2 separate regions of the Homo sapiens genome follow, and region 2 is linked to region 1. Evidence: promoter capture Hi-C in human tissues and cell types (Jung and others, 2019). All regions are on one chromosome and are shown on one strand. Each heading gives the region's core, a stretch centred on a gene start or on the middle of the fragment in contact. The rest is flanking DNA. Distances are from core to core; before and after follow the strand shown.

Region 1 (6,737 bases), core at 3,518-6,017:
GTATTATAAATAATCTAGAGATGACTTAAAGTATACAGGAGGATGTGTGTAGATTACATGCAAACACTGCAGCATTTTATATCAGGAACTTGAGCATCTGCAGATTTTGGTATCCGAGGGAAGTCCTGGAATCAATCCCCTATGGATACTAAGGGACAACTGTCTATATAAAATGAATGTTCACTTTAAGCAATTATTTGAGCACCTTCTATAGGAAGAATTCTTTAAGGGTAGGAGTAGGAGTATTCCTAATGGCACTAAAAGGTCAATAAATACTCTAACAAATTCCATGCTTTTATTTGTTTGTTTTTTTTTAATGAGAAAAGGCCAGAAATGTCAAAATTCATTTTGAAAAACAATGTGTAATAAATTCACTTTCTGTAAATCAGTGAAAGACACTTAAAAGGTTTGAATCCCTAGACAGCAAGGTTTTAAGCCCTGCACTTCATAATAATAATCCCATTAACAAATAACATGTATTGTGCTTATTCTGTTGCTTAATAACAGATTGGTGTGTAGATATCTAAGACACAGTATCTGCCATCAAAAGAGTTTAAAATCCAATGAGTTCAGCCATACGAAAAGATTAGAGTAGATTAGTGATTCTCAACCTTGGCTGGGCATTAGAATCACCTGGAGTGCTTTTTAAAATACCTATGCCCAGGACCCACTCCTAACCCAATGAATGAGAATCTTGGGGGAAGGGACACAGGTATTTGTAATGTTTAAAATGTTTAATGTGAAAATTAGAGGTTACTGAAGTTCAGCCAGGGTTGAGAGTCCCTGCAGGATACAGCTCAATTACCCATTCACCTGTGACACATAATTTTGATGATAAATTTAACTAATTACTCAACGATCCCCACCATAAGCACATAAGAAGACAATCACTTCTCCACTAACAACTTCACTAAATTGGATTTGGAGGCTGGGACACTGATAAAGTGTCAGGATTCGGAGATAAGCAATCCCACAGTTCTCACCTCTCAGTCCACCACGTTTCCAATGGAGTTCATCAAATGGTGGCAGGAACCTCAAAGGCCCAGACTTCAGAGCATAATTAAAGCCTTCCCAAAAGCTCCCCCTGTATCTTCAGGATCGCATCAACCTCTGGCCTTATCTGATGTTGATTCAGGGGGTTCCCAACATTCCACAAATAGGTTTTCTTTGTTCTCAACAGGTAGTGGTTACTTCTCAGACGCTGTCCACGAAATATAGAATGGCATTCTTGGACTTCACTTACTTTCCAAACTTTAGAAACCTCAACTTCATCCTCAATCTTGAAACCTGTCTTTCTCCCATCTACATTACTCAGTGCCTCAGAAAATAATGGACTTACTTTACATTCATGTTCCCACCAAATTTGGTTCTTTATAGCACTCGCCACCTGGATGTCTAAGATCTTGCCCATTTTCCCATTTGTAGTTAGACTGAGGAATATTTTTCATAGTTGATTTGCAAATCCTACAATATTTGCCTCAGAAACTAGATTTTCTACATGTAGACCTCATAAAATATATAATTAAGAGAAACTTGTGGATATCCCATCACTATTCCAGAAGCAAAATTGCTATTTTTAGGTTGATGTGATATAGCAGTTAGTAGATGGAAATGTCTTTTTAAATCAAGCATTAAAAAACAAACAATATGGATAAATTCCAATTCATAACAACATACATAGTACTAGGCTATGCAGTTAATGGCTGAGAGCAAACATCTAAAGACACAGTTCCTGGTTTCTAAACCCAAATCTACGACTTACTTGTCATGTCTCTGTGTCTCTTTTTCCCCTGATTTGTAAAATGGGGATAATAATAGTACCTATCTCCTAAGGTTGTTGGGAGAAATAAGTCATAAGCATGAAGTTCCTAAAACAGGGCCTGCACAGAATAAGCACAATACATGTTACATGTTAGTGTGATTATTATTACGAAGTGCAGAAATTCACTGATTTACAGAAAGTGAATTTACTACACATTGTTTTTCAAATTGAATTTTGACATTTCTGGCCTTTTCTCATTTAAAAAAAATGAATAAAAGCATGGAATTTGTTAGGGTATTTATTGACCTTTTAGTGCCATTATGAATACGATTTAATATTCGTTAAATCTTGTTATGATTACAATATTATTTAAAATAAAACTATGGGAGAAGAATACTTGGGGAGGGGAAAAATCATCACCTACTACTTCTTAAAATGAAATTTTAAAAGTGAAAATAAGAGGAAGGATTTATATGCTGCAGGTGACCTTTAAATGTCACATTCACTAATATATAAATGTAAACAGAAAAATATAAGTCTGGTAATAATAGTAAACTGATCAATGCAACTACATTGTTCTGTGATATTATAAGTTACGTTTCCATTCCAGAATGTCAATATTTTAACACCTTTTAAGATCAAATTATAGTGAATTAAATATCAGCTGGTTAGTTCTCTTCATGTTATTTACAAGCTTGTAGTTTATCTCTTACTTGGATAGCCCCCTGTACTAAACTTCTAAATATACAAGATTTGAGGGCATAAATTATTTAATAGTTAAAAAGTAACTTCAATTTGGTAAGACAATCCCTCAATGAGATCTATTTCAATAATCTGTCTGGAGTAATGTTGTTACTATTAATCTTAGCTCACTTTCAAAAGTTAGTGAAATATGATTTAATAGACAATTGGTTACTTGTTTAAACATCAGTTAACTGAATTACATGATTTAAACAGCAAACACTATTTTAACAATGGCAAACACATATGCACGTGCACACACACACATAACATTGCAGTTGATTTTCACACAGCTTTATAAACCACTTTAATTTTTTCCCTCCTCCACCTCAATTCCATCAGTAAAGAGTTCATCTTTAGGGGTTATATTTAATATATTAATAGACCTTTCATTGTACTCTCCTCCAGTTCTTGAGTATCCAAAGCAATATGCACATGTATCTGTCCAGAGCTGAATTTTTTTTCTGTATAATAATTCTTCATGGAGGCAAAGAAGGTGCAAGTATTTTCTTAAACCCCTAAGCTATACACTTGTAAGAAACAATTACTTTTATGCTTTGGATAACCGATAAGAAGTTAAAAGAAATTAAAACTTACGTTTTTCCATCACTAGATTGACCAACCCACTATTTTAGTCACATGGCACGAGACCAAATATTAAGAGAACCATTGGCCGCTAAAACAAGAATTTGTGACTTGCCCTGTTTGAGGAGCATTTGGGACATACAAAATGTTCCATGTGAAGATTCAAAAAATTAAAAGGTTATTCAATGCCTTCCTTTAAAAGTTTCACTGAGGAAGTCCCAGAGGCCCAATGTTACCCAAATACTTGGCATAAGTTCTAGTGCCAGATATTTTCTCAACATGTATTGCACACTTAAAAAAAATTGTCACTTAATTTATACTTGTTCCTGACTTCAGCTACAGAGCTAGGAACGTCTTTCTCATTTTAATAGTCACTCAGGACCTGACAACAGCCCACACACATAGTAAATGGTCATAGAATCTGTGACATTAAACTGAAAACACTCAAAATGTAGACAGGTTGGCTAAGCAAACAGCATGCTCCCACCTGTGTTCCTGCCCAAGTCACTGAGACAGGGCAGCTCACAAGGCTGAAACTCCAAAGGCCCCATCAGTTGTAACTTCCGAGTATGTGTCACTTGCACAATCAACTTTCTAACTCCAAGGAGCCTAAGTGAGGCGGGCCTTAATGGGTCAAAAATCACACTTAGGTGAGCAGCACCTTTTAAGACGTTCCCTCAAACAAGTTCTAAACCAGTGGTTCTCAAACTTCAGTGGGCATTCCAATCACCTGGGGATCTCGTTAAAGAGCAGATCCTGAGTCGGTGGGTTTGGAGAACTGCCCATATTGGGCAGTTCTAAGAAGCTCCCAAGAGATTCCAATGCTGCAGGTCCACTCACGACCCTCGGAGCTCAAGGCCCACAAACACCCAAAGACACCCACATCACTGATATTAGCAATAGACAACAGCTGCAGCTACAGGCAGTGCCCCATAATCCCCTGGGTTTTCTGCATCCCCTGAGTGTCGCCACCGGGTCGCACCTGGCAGGTGCCTTGGCTGCAGCCGCGCCCCACTCCTCCGCGCCGCGCTCACCTTCTCCCGGGTCTTCAGGTACCGCTGCAGCGCCTGCTGGGTGAGCTCGCCGACGCGCAGCTGGCCCTCCTTGCAGGGCACCACGATGCCCGTCCTGCCGAAGCACACGGTCACTTTCATCCTGGCCCCCGGCGACCACGCCGGGCCGGGCCGAACAGGTGTCTGACCCCGCGGGCGCAGCCCCCACTCTCGGAGGACGCCCGGGGCGGGTGGGCCCAGAGACCCGGGGCGCCGCTCCCCGGAACACCCTGAGGCCCGGAGGCTCGCGGCAGCGCCCCTTCCACCTGGCCAGGCGGCAGGTGGCGGGAATCGGGGAGGGGCGGCCGCGGAAAGGGGTTACCTCCCAGGTGCCCGGCGGCCCGGGACGCGGCAGCTCCGCGGCACCGGCTCCTCCTCCTCCTCCTCCCGCTCCTACTCCTGCCCGGCCCAGGCGGCTGCTCCGCGCCCACCAAAGCGAAACTGCCGGCCCTGCCCTGTCGCTGGTCCTGGCCCTGGCCCTGGCCCTGGCGGCGTTGGCAGGGCCGGCCCCAAGCCGGGGGCTGGAGTGGGCGGCGGCGGCGGCGGCGCACGGGGCCAGAGTTGGGAGGAAACTTTTGCGCCGGCTCCCAACTCCTCTGCGGCGCCCGCGCTCTGGGCTCCTGCGGTCCCGGCGACGGCCTGGGCCCGGCTCTTAAAGGGGCCGCGGCGCTCCCGGGCCCCGCCGCACGCTGGGCGACGACGTGCCCCGGCCCTGCGGGCCAGTAACTGGAGCCCGGGAGCCTCGTCTCGTCACCTGGGTCTCTCCCTGGCTCTCTCCCTCTCGCACGCATGCACACGGAGCTCTGGGGAGTTGTAAGGGGACCTGAGGGCTACACGCTCGAGGATTGAAACCGGATCTCAGAAAGAACACCCGAGGGAAGAGCGAGGAGACTGCAGAGCTGCGCCCTTCACAGGAGGGGACTGCAGCAAGATGCAAAAGGAGCCCAGGAGCAGGTGCTTCTAGTCACGCCCACCAAAAACACCCAAGGGGCGAGGCTGCCGGGTGCGGAGATGCAGGAGTGCCCCGAGGGCCTGTTAGGAACTCGCCTTAAGCACAGCCCGTGCCGCTGCCATCAGGAGCCCTGGGATAGCAGAGCTGAAGCGAACCTTGGAGAGAACGCGCCAGTGGAAACTTTTCCTTTTACAGACCCTCGAGGACACTGAGTATTTGGCCAAAGGTCACACCCAAGACCCAGATATGATCGCGTGTGTTGACACATAGCCTTCTGGAATGCGACTACCGTTGTGCATTTTATTAGGAAAAAAAAAAGTTAACACCCTTAGGCTCATGATTTGGCAGGTGTGTATCCATCACCAATTGAAATGGGAATATGTGGGGGAAACCAACAAATTACGTTAGTTTCATTCTTAGCTCTCATGTAAATGAGCTCCTTTGAGCTTAACAACTACCCGGTAGGTAGATATTATTCTTCGCATCTTGTGCATCAAGAATGGTGCTCGGAGAGGTCAAGAGACTGAGCAGACCATGGTGTTAGTTCTGTTGAAAAGAACTCAGGTCTTCTGAGCTCAATCTCTGGTCTCTCCCTGCAGTTTTCTTAGCCATCCAGTTCATCCAGCAAGACCCTCAGGGCTGCATCATGTGTTTCTCTACAGAAGGATGTGCTCCTATGTGGACACACTTAAATTGAACGTGAATTGCCTAGGATGGTATGATAATGCAGAGGAGATTAAATTCATGGGTTTCAAGAGGTTTTTTAAAAAAATAAATTTTAGCTCATTCATACATTCAGTAAGTATATATTGGTTGTCTTCTATGTATAGAAAGTCAGTGGCAAACCAAGAGGATCACGTAAACCAAGTCCATTGTAATTTGGTTGTAAATCCAATACAAACTAATTTACATTTAAATAAACCAAAGACAGAATTGATCACCTCATAAAATCAGAAGATCCAGAGGGCACTCCATTGAGGCAAGGTTGAAAGCAGGAACTCAAACTATGTCCTCAGGGGCCAGCTAGCTCTGTCCAGCTCTTAGCTCTATCTGTTCCTCAGTGTGGTCTCCATTCTCAGGCCAGCTCTCTTCAAAGGAGACACTTTATCCTCTTTTTAGAGATGAGGAGCTGAGGCCAAAGGAAGTTAAATGATTTAGTTAAAATCTCATTCTTAGAAAGTAGCAGAGGCTGGCTTAAAACCCAGGTCATCTGATTCCAGAGTCTTCATCGTAACTGCTGTGCTGTTTCTTACATGAGAAGTACCAATGAGTGAATCAAACAAACAAATAGATACTGATGCCGTGCATTAATGTGTGGCCCTCACTTTTAATATTCGGTATTTCATGGACCTATAGAATGGTACAGAGCAAAGATTTTCCACTGATGAAATAACTTTGCATGTTGCCATCCTTCCTGCATCGTGGCTTTTTGCTTTACAGTTGCTCCAGACTCATTTTCTTCTGCTTGGGTCATGAATAGCTCCTCCTCTTCGCCACAAATTCCCTCTTAGCCCAGCTTTAGCTCCTTCCCAATATCTAGAACCTCCCACCCCAAGTCCTGGCTTTGATAATCCCCAAGTGAACCATAAAGAACACTCCGGCTCTCCCAGTTCCACTTGGGAAGTTGGAATCGGGACCTAGGGGA
Region 2 (7,745 bases), core at 1,044-3,543, 150 kb before region 1:
GAAGCTGATTTCAGCTAGGTATTAGTGGAGCACGATCTGAATCAATACACACAGGTACTGGTGACTGACACTAGTACTCACAGGCATTTGCATTTTTAAAAGAAGATGTTTTATAGCTTAAGTAGTCTTCCATTTGGTATAATTTTAGGTATTACAATGAGATTGTAATTCGTAAGTTACATAAGTAAAAAAACAGATGTATATTAAAAAAAAATAATGGTCCCATACCCCTAGGCCAAAGATATGCCTATACAAATAGCTTCAAAAGAAGCTAATGTGAGAGAGAAAATTGGTAGAACTGGGTCCAGTAATGTAACATATGGTGAAAGGCATACTGTAAAGATGAAAGTGTTCATTGACTCTTATTTTGAATTACATTTTTAGCTCTAAGTAAAGCATTATTGTGATCTCAAATTTTATTGGGTTTTTCCCTCCAACCAAACTTAAAATTTTACACACATATCAAACATTTTCTTATGGTTTACTCTTCACTGTACTCAAATGCTTAGCTAAATTAATAATACCATAGAGCTTGATCATGTCATTCCAACCTCTGATGAAACCTGTGTGTCACAATTGTACACAACAAGCAAACAAATTCAGGGCAAGTGTACACACTCCTCCACATACATACATCTGTGCACAGATTCTCTCATCATACGTACATACACACATACACCCATACACACTATAGTTGTCAACCAACTAAATTGCGGAAGGCACATATCTGACATGGCCATCATCAAGATTACTGTAGTTTAAGTTACTATCTCTTGACACTATTTGCCTTAGCTATAGTAAGGTCACAAAGGCATTGATTCCAAAATTCTTCTCTGAGGTTGAAACATGCCCACAAACTGTCTCCTAATAAAATATTTCAAAGAGACAACGTAGTTTGGTGGAAGAAAAAGGTAGTCAATTAGAAATCTTCAATTCTAGTTCCCACTCTATCACTAACTAAAATTAAACATGTTTATGAAACACTGAACTACAGGTAAGAAGTCTATGGGCTAAAAAATATTTTAAACAATCATCCCAGTCCTAAAACAGCACACAAGACACCTGGACAGACAAACCAAGACTTAAAAAGTTAAACAATAAAATTCTTAAGAACTTCGAGATGGTAAGTGGTAAATGTTACTAGCCAATAACATTTGAAAAAGAAAAAAAGACCACTTAATCGTTTCTATAAAATTTCAGAGCACAGAGGATTTACTTTAGATTGAGATGATTTACAAATGTTGACTGGGATAAAATACAATTTCACCTTGATCTTGAAAAATTCATAAGAACTGAACAGCAGGAATAGATACATTTTTTACACGTATATAGTGCTTTGTAATTTCCATTGTATTTTCCTGCACACTTTTTCAACCTTCCCAATAATACGATGTGAACGATATCATTTATCACTCTCATTTTACCAATGGAAAAACTGGAGTTACAAGTGGTTGAATGGCTTATTCAAAACCTCAAAGCATACGTTCATTCATTGACTGTAATTATTTGAACAGCTAGGAAATGCCAGGCACTGCTGCAGGCACTGGGAATACAGCAGTGAATAAAGCAAAGACCCCCTCCTCATGGAGCTAATATTGAATAATACAAAATACAACATAAACTGAATCTTCGATGGGCAGGAAATAGGGACAAGGATATAGCAGACAACCGGAACATTAAGAAAAAAAGCTTTGGAGCTAGAAAGTCCATGATACATAATAAATCGTACAGTAGTTTCGCCACCACTGCGGTTGAAGTGGGTTTAGAGAAAGTTTGGAGGCATTGTGAGGCCTCTAAATGGCTACAAAGTTTGGACTTGATGCAGTATACACTAAAAGGAACAATATGATTTAAGCAATACTTTTTAAATAATGTAATTTACATTATTAATAGTGTGTTAATTACAATAACAATTGATGACTTACTACAGGCCAGGTGCTCTCCTGAACACTTCGTGTTAACTTACATAATTAGTACTATTTTTAGTTCCACTTATCCATGATGAAACTAAGGCACAAAGAGGTTTAGCAACTTGGACAAAACTAGACAAATAACAGGGCCAAGAAATGAACTGACTTTTTTGTCCAGAATCCAAGATCTTAACCATTCTGCCTACATACGAGGCACAAAAACAGCTGACAGGTAAGGAAGAGACTAAAAACAAGACGACCAATTTCTTGTCAATTACAGTAACCTTGGCCTGAAATATTATGGATATAAATTTGGTAGCTGTGGAAATTCAAAGACAAAAACAAACATATGGGAAAGGATAAAGGAAAGAATAAATTGGCTTTATTAAATAACTAAATTTTTAAAATAACTGCAAGTTCAAGTCTGGGAGACTAGGAGAAGGTGCTCCTAACCAACAAAAACAAGGATGTCAATGGAAGAAGCCAACTTGAAACTAACCAACAAAAACAAGGATGTCAATGGAGGAAGCCAACTTCAAACTGAGTAGTTTTGATCTGCATGAGATGTTATCAGCATCCTAGGGAGGAAATGCAGAAATGGACTCAGGAACTAAATCAGCTACAGACATCGTGTTCTATAACCTCTTCCTGGGTAGGATATTTCCTCTTTTGAAAGATGATGAGTTTAATCCACATGACTGTTGAGGTCTTGTTTGGATCCATGATTCTACAATTTTGTAATTCTATAAGCGGAGAGTAATCTTGAAAATTCTGAGCTAAAATTTCATGACCAAGGTAATTCATTTGTTCTTCAGGAGCTTCTGCATTTATTTCTGAAACCTTCTCCAAACTTCTTCTATGTGCTTTTGTGCTTTTATAACATCAACTCCCATGAACCAAAGTAAGACTTTTTGAAGGAAAAACAAAAACACATCATATCCTGATTTGTTTTTCTTTTAATTGTGGCTTTAAAATAGGTACTTTAGCTTGCGATGGAAATCTTACTGATAAAATGAGGGCTAAGAAATGAAATAAATCAGGACCTTTAAAAAAAAAAAAGCTGTTTAACTTAATTTAGCATTCTCCTTCTCCAGAAAACACAATATACTTCATAGATTGTCCAACTACAGACTGAATAAGTTACACACTTCATCACCACCAGCCATTAATCTTTCAGCCAGCAAACAGGTAGGCGGGAAGAAGTCTAAATTTAAAAATAAATTTAAAAGAGGAGTTTTTATAAATGCAAGGAATTTCCTTTAGCCCTTACTAGAAGATGCACAAAAGCACAGGGAAATATATGCAAACTCTGGCTTTATTCTCCATGCCTGAGTCTGTGAGTTGTAACAAAAAACATAGCAAAAATTATTTTCAAATAAAGTAGAACAAAATACTTCATCCTGTTCAGGAAGTAGCTCCTGTGAGCTGGTTTCTAGGTAACTGTGGACCCACTAGAGGGCAACAGAGTGTTCAGAAAGCAATTTGGCTTAAGAATAAAGAGCCTGGCTTTAGGTCACTAGTTCATGCAGCATTGCGCAAACCAGTCTCCATTTTAAAATCATGTTACATCTCCAAATGCTCCTTATGTTACCAAATAATATGTTCTGATAAAAGGATTCTCATTTCCAGTTTAATCATACTGGCATTTTCATTTCGCAAATAATAACAATATATTAATCCAAATGTTCTGTCATATTCAATATCTTCTTATAAAACTATTTTACCAATTTAATAACTTCATTCATATCAGTTTTGTTTAAAAAGCAGTTAAAATATACAGTAAAATAGTTTATTTGATGTTTAAATACCTAAAAACATCTAATGGTAACATCAAAACACCTACATTAAAAATACTGTAATAGCACTACCATAGTATCATTAATATAACAGCATTTGAGTTCTCAGTATATGCTATACTATACTTAAAATTTTATATAGTTTACCTACCTAGTTTTCCTACACCAACCCTGTAAGAACATTATATTCATTTTACAAATGGGGAAACCAAGACCAGAGAGATGAAGAAGCTTGCCCAAGGACTGATAACTAATAGGAGATAAAACTGAACTGAAATTATAACATTTGAATACCAGATATCACATGTGATCCAGTGGGCAATTCACTTGGAAGCCCTGAAAACCACTGGCATCTCTCCAAACTAGCCCCCTAGGATAGGCAAAATTTAGTCAAGAACAGAGGCATCTTTCCATGTTACTTTACTACATAATACAGTATTACTTTTGTACAGTTAATGAAACCATGGCAGTAATTGACTTTATATAATAGATGTGATAGACTGCCATGTTTTCATGTTATATTGCAGTTGTCTTCTTCAACCCAGCCAAAAATTAATAATGGCAATTACCAAAGAAAATAATCATTTTAAAAAGCTTAATACTCAGAAGCTCTCATGCTCACTTAAAAGGAAGGAAGCATTAAGCTTTGCAGTGGTTTACTAAGCATCAGTCTTCAGACTTCTTAGGGCCTTTACATACTGCAGCGAGAAACTGATAAGTGAACAAGGCTGTTTGTCTGTGACTTTGAAATAATTTCTACACTATAGACGATAACAGCATAATTAGATATTTAAAGATCAAGTCTCAAAGAGTGAAGGCTCACCCAATAAACTGAGGATCATTTGTGATGGACTTTGGGAGGAAGGCAAAGAACAAGGAACCCATCTGAAGTACAAAGCATTTATCTCATCCTGCAGGATCTCAATGCCCAGTCAATATGAAATTTGAGAAGACTAACATCACTTTAAAAGTTAAAATGGGAAAAGAGGCAGTGTATGTATTAGTGTCCTATTGCTGCTGTAGCAAGTCACCACAAATGCAATGGCTTAAAACATCACAAATTTATTATCTGACAGTTAAGAAATCTGAAACAAGTCTCACTGGGCTAAAATCAAGGTATCAGCAGGACTGTGTTCTCTCTGGAGGCTTTAGGGGAGAATCCATTCCCTTACTGATTCCAATGTCAGAGGCCAGCTACATTCTTCGCTGGTGGCACCTTCTCCATCTTCACAGCTGGCATTGGCTGGGTGTGTCTTTCTCACATTTATCTCTCTAATACTCTCCTGCCTTCTTCTTTCATTTATAAGGATGCTTGTGACTACATTGGGTCCATCCAAATAATCCAGAATAATCTCTCCATTTTAAGATCCTTAAGCACATCTGCAAAGACGCTGTGTCATGTAACATTCATATTCACAGGTTGTAGAGATTAGGGAGTAGACATTTTTGAGGCGCCATTACTCTGCCTACTGAAAACAGCACAGTCTATAGTTGGTGCAAAAAAGTAGTTACTGTAATACAAACTTGTTTTTCTTTGTAATTGCATATGGTGGTTAGACTTCAAGTGCAGTCTAAAGCGTCCAACTGAAATTAAACTGTATCTAAATCAAATAATCTGGGTCCTAGAGAAAAGAGGATGCAAAAGAAAGCAACAGAGGTAGAGCTGACAAGCCTTTACAATAAACTAGATGCAGGCTATAGGCAAACAGGGTTGAAATATATTAAATATGTATGGCATATTAATTCTGAATTAATTTATAAATAAATTGTATACTCAACTGTTTTGTTATACTCAACAGTTTGGTCTATTACCAACCTTTTCTTAGCAATGGTGGTGACTACGTAAAAGCAAAATTCATGTTAATTTATGACTGATGAATTTTCGTAATAGAAATTATAGATACAAGCGCCAAACTGCTTGACACATCAGAGAAGAAAAGAAATAAGATTACAGAAATTTAAATTCTAGGTTCCAGAGTCTGATTGTGCCATTTACTACCTGTGTGATCTTGGGCAAGTTACTTACAATTTCTGTGATTATTCTGGAAATTAAAAATAGGGATAACACTAGCTCTTGTCTTCAGGATTGCTTTAAAATAACGTAGAATAAATAAGGGCCAAAGACATTCTGGGCCATTGCTAGTCATCAATGATTAGGTTGTTACTATTGGGTGAACTAAGTTGGTAGCCTTTAGCAACCAGAGAGGAGACATGAGTGTAAAATTACAATTCTTAGATATTTATCCCAAAGAACTCGAATCATCAGACTGATAGACAAACTGAAGAATCTTGAGAATAACTGTCACAACCAGATAATTATTAAGTTTCAGCACAACATTTTATACAAATAGTTATCATAAGATGCAATATTCCAAAGCTGTTCCAATAATATTTTGACACATATAGGCTAGAAGTAGTGTAACACAGTGGAGACTTGGTCCCCGTGGAAGCTGTACTAGGAAAGCAAGTTTAAAAAACCAAAGCTCCCAAGCAGATACCATGTATGCGCCAAGCACTATGTTGGCCAAAGGAATAATAGAAGTAAGACCACAGACAAACCACTTTAGGCACAAGTTTTAAAAGTCATTTCTTAAGAACACTGGCTGAACTTTGTTAGAGCCTTCTCTAATTTGAAGTACAATATCATTTAACCTCTAGTTTCTACCTTTACTGAAGTGTATGGGATGGTGTTACCATACACTAAATGGCCCAGCCTCCCCTGCTTTCTAAGTTTCTGTTTTTCCTGCCTGATATGCTGCAATAGACCAACAGTTCCTTAATGCCACTTCTCACCTGGAGTGAGAGTCTTTCCTAGGAGGTGAGATATTTTGGGGTTAGCACAATGATTATGTGCATCTATCCGTGCCTCTTTGGACTTGTTCTCTATCCACATTTTAAATGCCAAAGATTATTAGGTAGCCAATTTGCAAACAGGTGAACTGTTATTTTGTCTAAGCTCAATACCGCCTCAAAGGATCCTGAGTGAGACTGATATGTCATTAAGCATCCACAAAGCATCACTTATAGTTACTTCTTAATCTAAACTGCCAAAAAGTAAGGTAAAATGAAATTTGGCAGGGCCTTCTTTCCACAATAGACATATGGACTATAAAGAAATCTTAAGATTACCAAGGTTGTCAGAAAAATAAGAAATTCTTTTTTTCACCTTTTTTTTTTTTTTTTTTTAGATGGAGTCTTGCTCTGTCACCCAGGCTGGCCTGCACTGGTGTGATCTTGGCTCACTGCAACCTCTGCCTCCTGGGTTGAATTGATTCTCGTGCCTCAGCCTCCTGAGTAGCTGGGATTACAGGTGCATGCCACCACTCCTGTGTAATTTTTTTGTATTTTTAGTAGAGATGGGGTTTCACTGTGTTAGCCAGGATGATCCTGATCTCCTGACCTCGTGATCCACCCACCTTAGCCTCCCAAAGTGCTAGGATTACAGGCATGAGCCACCGTGCCACTTACGTATTTTTTAAGAAGAAGAAATGGCAACACAATTTTTTCTAGCAACATCAAAAGTATAAATTGTCATAAACTCTGCAGAACAATACCAATTAGGCATCATGTAGAAATATTGAAGTACATTAACAGAATTGTTAAAGCCGAACCCAAGCAGTACTAATCCTCAGCTAGGATTTTAACTGATTATCTCACTTTTTTACCTTATTTAGTAATGGTGGTAGAGTCCCATTAAAACAGAGATTACATATAATAAAGCTGTTTCTGTGTGTAGTAAGTGGATTATGGTTATAAACTGCATTGCTGAGATAGTTTAAAAGAATGCTCTAAATGTGAGAGCTCTATGGGACAAATTATCTCCCTGGGCACTGTTCATGGACTTATCCTTCTAGTAATGAGGTATTGGATGAAGCTGGGGTAAGACATTTTCTTCTCGTCCTTCCTAAACTTGCCATTTTTTGGCCCTTCATTTTAATGTTCTGGACATCAGTGAAATTTAAGACAGGAACTGCCTTCTACATTAATAAACAATTAAAATATCTGGATTATTTCAAAGGAAGAAGATGATCCCTAGGGA

The links. Contacts are between HindIII fragments. The study calls those that stand out against the background at their distance.
Region 2: a fragment that was not itself captured here is called in contact with the fragment with the promoter of PARD3B in region 1 in 1 of the 25 tissues and cell types used here (IMR-90 fibroblasts).

What each region holds. Positions count from the first base shown.
Region 1 is chr2:204,543,505-204,550,241 of GRCh38, reverse strand. PARD3B (par-3 family cell polarity regulator beta) reads right to left here and starts at 4,767. Exons shown (of 23, transcript NM_001302769.2): 1 at 4,123-4,767. The coding sequence starts at 4,242. RefSeq lists a silencer at 4,731-4,780. The HindIII fragment of the contact is 11,144 bases long and covers 1-6,737 here.
Region 2 is chr2:204,687,726-204,695,470 of GRCh38, reverse strand. All of the region lies in intron 2 of PARD3B (par-3 family cell polarity regulator beta), which reads right to left. Among named protein-coding and RNA genes, the nearest start is that of PARD3B, 150 kb to the right of the region's middle. The HindIII fragment of the contact is 4,065 bases long and covers 261-4,325 here.